Regions from separate parts of the Homo sapiens genome. Here region 2 is linked to region 1. The links are contacts of gene promoters, found by promoter capture Hi-C in blood cells and fetal thymus (Javierre and others, 2016). All regions are on one chromosome and are shown on one strand. The core of a region is centred on a gene start or on the middle of the fragment in contact, and the rest is flanking DNA. Distances in the headings are between cores, read along the strand shown.

Region 1 (3,190 bases), core at 422-2,921:
TCAATTTTTTTTTTTTTTTTTTTTTTTTTTTGAGACAGATTCTTGCCCTGTCGCCCAGGCTGGCGTGCAATGGCTCCATCTCGGCTCACTGCAACCTCCGCCTCCCGGGTTCAAGCGATTCTCCTGCCTCAGCCTCCCGAGTGGCTGGGATTACAGGCGTGTGCCACCACGCCTGGCTAATTTTTGTATTTTTAGTAGAGGCGGGGTTTCACCATGTTGGCCAGGCTGGTCTCAAACTCCTGACCTCAGGTGATCTGCCCGCCTCAGCCTCCCAAAGTGCTGGGATTACAGGCGTGAGTCACCGCGCCCAGGCAGCACTCCAACTTTTTATATGGATTGTTAACTGTACTGGTTCTTGAGAAGCCAGACTGAGCGCTTATACAATTAGTCCAAAGATCCCCAAACAACATTTAAAGGCTGTCTACAAATTCAAGCTAAAAGACTGTGTACAAATTCATTTGTGTGTCACAAAACATTTAATACTGAAAGAGATTCTTATTCAAATAGGCAGTGTGTAAATGTGGGGTCTGTTAACAGTTCAAATTGCAGATTCCTTTCCTTCTTTAAGTTTTCATTGCACCACCACGAACTAAACCATTTAACATACCTCAGAGGTCTCTGGGTACCTAGTCTCTCAGAGGCCTTTGGAGGCCCACGAAGGCTTATCTTAACTAAAATTGGCAGGGCTGGCTGATAAAGTTAACGGAACTCCCCATTTTGGAGGCAGACTTAGTAATGGTCAAACGAAGAAACTGTTGTGGTCTGTTCTTAAAAAGCTACTAGTATTTAGTGCTTCACAGAGGAAGTAAAGAAAGCAATAATCCGAGATGAGGAGGAGCAAATACAGGCGTGGCGGTAGTTCAGGACTGAGTCTACAAGGGCGGTTCTCAAGGGCGTCACAAAATCCTATGGAAGGCTTGGAGGACGGCACTCCTGGATCTGAGCCCTACGTCCCAAACACCTTCAATCGTATTGTGAGGAAGAAGACCTTTTACACACTCCCTGCTGCTGGCCCCCGGCCCCCTCGCCCCACCTCCGAGTGGTCACATCACACGGCGGGAGCCGCGGTCAGCAGCTGTGATCACACCCCCAGGACCGTGCTCTGCGGGCTGGGCTCGAAGCCTTGGGACGCGGCACTTCCTGGTTGGTACGGGATGCCGGTCCCATCGCCCCCACCAGCCCAGTCATGCCACCGCGCACCCGAACCAAGGGCGCCCGGATGACCTGGGGACACCACACACACTGCACCCGAAGCCCTGTGGCGGCGAGGCGGTGCATCCTGCAGAGGACGCCTGGGCTTCAGCCTGAGCCTGCGCGGCTCTGCGCTCCAGGCAGCCGCCCGCGCGGCAAAAGTGCGTGCCAGAGTTGTCAGCTTTCACCCTGCAGGAATTCCACCCGAAGGCGTGCGAGGGAGGCCCTTGGGGATCGCTAGGGAGTCCGCCGCCGACTCACTCGCTGAAATCCCGTCCAAGTTGGGCGGGGAGCGGCCAGCTGCCCAGGTTGGGCGGAGGAGGGACGGAGGGCGAGGGCAGTGGAAACCCGGCTCCCACGGGCGCCCGGTGATCCGGGTCTCGGCGCGGCTCCTACCTGCAGGGCGAAGGGGCCGCTAGCACCTGCGCGTTGGCGGCGGACTCTCAGGGCTCGGGTGCCTCTGGCACAGCTGGAGCTCAGCGGGAGGGAGGGAGAGAGGGCGGGCCGGAGGGGGCTCTGCGCTGCGCGGCCGGCAGGAACTCTCCGCCCGGATTCGCCCCGGATTCGCAGGGGTGGAGCGAGGCGGTGCCAGGTCCCGGGGCGTCGCGGTGCCGGCTGGAGGCCCCAGCGGGGCAGGTCTCGCGACTGGGCCTCTGATCGCCCGCGTTCCTTGTTCTCTTTTCCCAAAGTTTCATAACTCGACCGCATCACCCTAGGGAATGCTCGCTATTAGGACCATTATCAGGTCCTCTCGAGCCGCCAAGGACCAGCCACCTTTCCCGGAGCTTTGCCTATGATATCTATTCTTCGACTACTGCGGATAGTAGCCACAACTGGTCCAACTTATAAGTAAGGAATCAGCAAATCAAACGGCTAAATAACTTGCCTGAGGTGACATAATTAAGAGACTGGAGCTTTGCTGGAGTCTTTATAAGCCTTCTTGCACCTCCTTAGGGAAGTGTTATCGCCAATTTACAGGTAAGGAAATGAAGGCTCAGAACCAGCCCGAGGTCACACAGCTTAGATGGAGGGGGACGGGAATTTGTGTCCCGATGTCTCTAAAACTGGTTATAATTCAGAAATCTTAGCATAAAATAATAAATTGGGAGCAAAACAGGGAAAAGACCCATTCCACCTATGGAACCGTTCAAACACGGCAATTTTGCTGTTTTCAGTCCACTTAGAATAAAGTCTTAAGAAAAAGAGAACCAGTTGTCATGTGGCTTGAATAGCAGCCCTTTGGGAATGTAATTTTGAATATAGGCCAGTTCCAACCTCATTACACGATATTGCATCCCGCCAAAGCCAGGGGAAGCAATGGCCTCCCCATGCACCAAACTGCTAATAACGTCAGCCACTTTAAAGCATTTAGTGGATATTACACAACTGCGACTGACCAAGTTACATAATGTCTTACTGCACACATGGCATTGCATGAAATGAAAAATATAATATACCAGTCCAAATTAGGGGAGGGGGGCCAAATTATAGTCTGGAACTCAGTTTTCCTGTAACCTACAGTTGCTCAGCCCTCCTTAGACCACATTTTTGTCTCTTGAGCACATCTTTTCCTAATGATAGAAGAGTCACACAGCCCTCACTCTTTCCTTGTTGACATAAATGATTGATGTCTTTTGAATCCTATGATACTGACAGATTTTTACAATTAAACACATGACTCTCTGAGCAGAGTATTGCCTAAGAGGAGTTTAGTAAGTTTCAGACAAGCATGTTACTGGAAGGCAGAATACCCTCTCTCCTCCCCTCTTTCTCAAGCTTTATTAGTCACAGATGGTCTGATAAGTCTTGTGCACACACGTAACTGCATTCTTACAAGCTTGTCTTTAGAAATTATAATGCTTTTGGTTGAGAAGCAGCAGTCTATAAAATTGCATCCCAAATTCTTAAGTGTCACTATGAAAACATTTGGCACTTGCCTCCAACAATAGGTCTTTCTACTAAATCTAATTAGAAATAAAATTATCAAGGCCAAGCGCAG
Region 2 (3,190 bases), core at 309-2,808, 260 kb after region 1:
TTTCTTTCTCTGGAATTGGTGAAGAAAGAGATAAACAAGATCCAAAACCAGGTCGCATGAAAGGATCAACACTCCCCTGGACATACAGTTGTTTGGGATAATCGTAAATCCTGCTGTCTGTAGTGGCTGACGAGGGGAGAAGAGCAGAATCCTAGCACTCCGGCTACTGACTGTGAAACTAATGTATCTTTGCTATCACATATTTAGCATTTACCTTTTACTTTAAGCCAAAAACACCTTACACTTTTCTTAGATGAGCTTTTTAAAAACATTGTAATTTATGAAAAAAATTTGAACATAGACAAAAGTAGAGAATAGTAGTGGATCCCCCTGGACTTATTACCCAGCCTTGACAATCAATCAGCTCGTGCCAGTCTTGTTTCATCTTTACCCGTTTTCATTCTCTGCTCCTTGCTGTAATATTCTGAAGCAAATCTCAGGCATATTATTTCATCCTTCAATATTTCAGTATTTTTTTCAGATAAGTTCTTTCGGAAATATATTTTCATCTAATTTAAAACAAAAAGTTTTCAGGAAAAATACAGGCATTTTTGCTGCAAAAATTGGTCAGGATTATGCAATTTCTAACTAATCAGCATTTTTCAAGGTTACTGGTTTTGGCTGACAAAATTTTTTTTCTTATATGTGGAAAAAATTATTCACAGTAACAAATGCGTGTTTTGATAGTGCTAAAAATTAGTCTATTTTTCAGACTTAATTATTCAATTAAAAAATAAGACACTTCATAAACTTTAAAACTATTGTGTAGAAACACACTGTTCTTCAGTTTTATGTGTTTTCAGTCATTATATTTCCCAGCTATTTCAAATAGGCTAAATATAGTATACCCTAAGCTTACTCAATCGTTAGTTTAGACTCAACTAATTTGGAATTTTCATTGAGTTGGATATAACTTTAATAGCAGGTTTCCATTCAAGCAAAGTATTTGCTAATTGCAGGTGATTATTAAGGCAAAGTCTTAAGGATTTATAGAATAAGTAAATGGTTTTATGGGCTCATGGATCTTTAGGTATATATATATTTATACACCTTAATGGTATGAATTTAGCCTGACTTGGAAAAACTAACCTGGTTTATATGTGTATATAGTCCATTAATTGATTCACTAAAATTTTTATTTTGTTAAAAATAGTGAAATAAAATCAGAATTAATTTTTTTTTATTCTCTGTGAAGAGTCTTATGAAAGGTGGTCAGATTTATAAGTCAGATTGTGGCTAGTGAATCTTAGTTTTTCTCTCAAATACCTCAAGACAGCATGGAGGCTGGTTGTCACACACATTCAAAGGAACAAAATACTTATTAGCTAAAAAAGGGTATGCACATTTTTGGGGGCTTTGAAGCATATTGTAGGGCTTAGTAATAATGACAGTGAAAATTAACATAGCGAGCACTTCCGTATGAAGTCATTTTCTCATTACCATGGTCTTACGAGGATAGATGTTGTATTTATCCTTGTTTTACAGATAGAAACTGAGACATGGAGAGTGAAGTAACTGGCTCCAATCCCAGTGCTAAGTGGTCAAGCCAGGGTCAGAATTGTAACAGTTGAGTTCATGAGTACTGGCCCTTAACAACTCTGCTGGAGTGCCTCCTTTGGTTAAATACTAGTAGTTCATATGTCGGAAACTCATCCTTCATTTTCTTCAATGAAAATACGGCATTTTACAGCAGTGCTGTCCAATAGAATTGTTGAAATTATGGAAATACCCGCGTTATCTAGTATGCGTATGCCCATTAGTCACATGTGGCTGTTGATTACTCAAATGTGGCTAGTGTGACTGAGAAATAGAATTCAAGGTTTTATTTAATTTTAAGTAATTTAAATTTAAATAGTTACATGTAGCTAGTGGTTCTAGTACTGGACAGAGAGGCTATAGAGTTTGAGAGACCTGGGAGAATTTGTAGTTTGCGTTTCCTGGGGTAATGACAATATCTTGGCATTTTGTGGCTATCAGTATCTTGACCTCGTTAGGGTTGTCAGTGAATGGTTGTGTCATGAAATAGTAATAATGTTAATAAAGGTGAAATTTTTACAAAGTGGATAATTGAATGTTTAAAACTGTGATGCCTAACAACAAAATCCTGTTTGATCACCAACCTGGGAAATCCACAGTCTACCGCATCTGGAGGCATCCTCTTGTTAATTCCTTTGTAGCCAAGCAAAAACTGCTTTGACATTCCCGCATGATTTTCAGCCTTGTAGATGAGTTCTTGCTTTGTAAAGAGTCCAGCTTCTTGGTCAAGCTTAACATTAGGCGTGATGATAAGATAGTAAAATGGACTTTGTGGGCCAAAAGCAGCCATTAAGAAGCAAGTGTTTAACTCTTTATCTTTCTCCTACAGCCTGATGTTGACAGAGCTCCCATCTATGAAAATACATCAAGAAAACTCAGTGGTAATGAAGCTAGATTTCATTTCAAATGACACTGAGGCCACATAAACGGTGACACTGATGCCTCTTATGATGTGCTTTCATCTAAGCCTTTATGTGGCACTTAAGTCTAATTATTTTAATTTTTTCTTTGTGTTGATGAAAAGGGCCGGAGTAGTTGTTTCCACCAGCCATGGTGGGGCTCTGAAATGGAAGCAAGCAAAGCCTCCAGATGGTGGCAGGTATTGGACCATAGCCACCCTGCAGACATAATTAAACATGTCTGCAGCCCTCTCATTTAGCAGTTATAACACAGACATTTTCTTTGTTGATGGGATTGAACTGTTATTGTTAGCATTTATGTGAAGGACTTGCAGTACTATAGCCAGGTGCTATTTCTCAGCTACTGTGTTAAACACTGGGCCTGGAACTCTGCTTTGAAAGGTTTGGAGAGAAGGTTCCTCCCAACATTGGGAATGAACATGGTGGTTGGGGTGTTTTCAGCAGGTCCTGTTTGCCCACTTTCCATTTGTAATTCTCAAGTGTAACAGTTCGAATGTAGAGACTGGCTGTGAAAGTGGATTGGGATTTTAAGACAAAAAGTATTGGACAGCAGGTGAAACACACTTCGTTCCTGGCTGCAGTACCAGCTTCTGTCTGAAGTTAGGTAAATCATTTAGTTGCTGTGGACTTTGACTTTCTTCAGTTGGCAAAACAACCTTTGGGAGGGGAAACCAAATATCACTAGAAAGTGATTTGACTTCTCGAAAAGACAATTATGGTTTATTTGTGAAATA

Evidence for each region. The method cuts DNA at HindIII sites, captures the fragments that hold promoters and counts their contacts. A CHiCAGO score of 5 or more calls a contact.
Region 2: a fragment that was not itself captured here is called in contact with the fragment with the promoter of PLD1 in region 1 in 3 of 17 cell types (M1 macrophages, neutrophils and M0 macrophages); the score reaches 7.3 in M1 macrophages.

Annotation. Positions count from the first base shown.
Region 1 is chr3:171,808,812-171,812,001 of GRCh38, forward strand. It overlaps PLD1 (phospholipase D1), which reads right to left and starts at 1,672. Exons shown (of 27, transcript NM_002662.5): 1 at 1,588-1,672. The HindIII fragment of the contact is 4,859 bases long and covers 1-2,965 here.
Region 2 is chr3:172,070,407-172,073,596 of GRCh38, forward strand. All of the region lies in intron 1 of FNDC3B (fibronectin type III domain containing 3B), which reads left to right. Among named protein-coding and RNA genes, the nearest start is that of FNDC3B, 32 kb to the left of the region's middle. The HindIII fragment of the contact is 1,412 bases long and covers 853-2,264 here.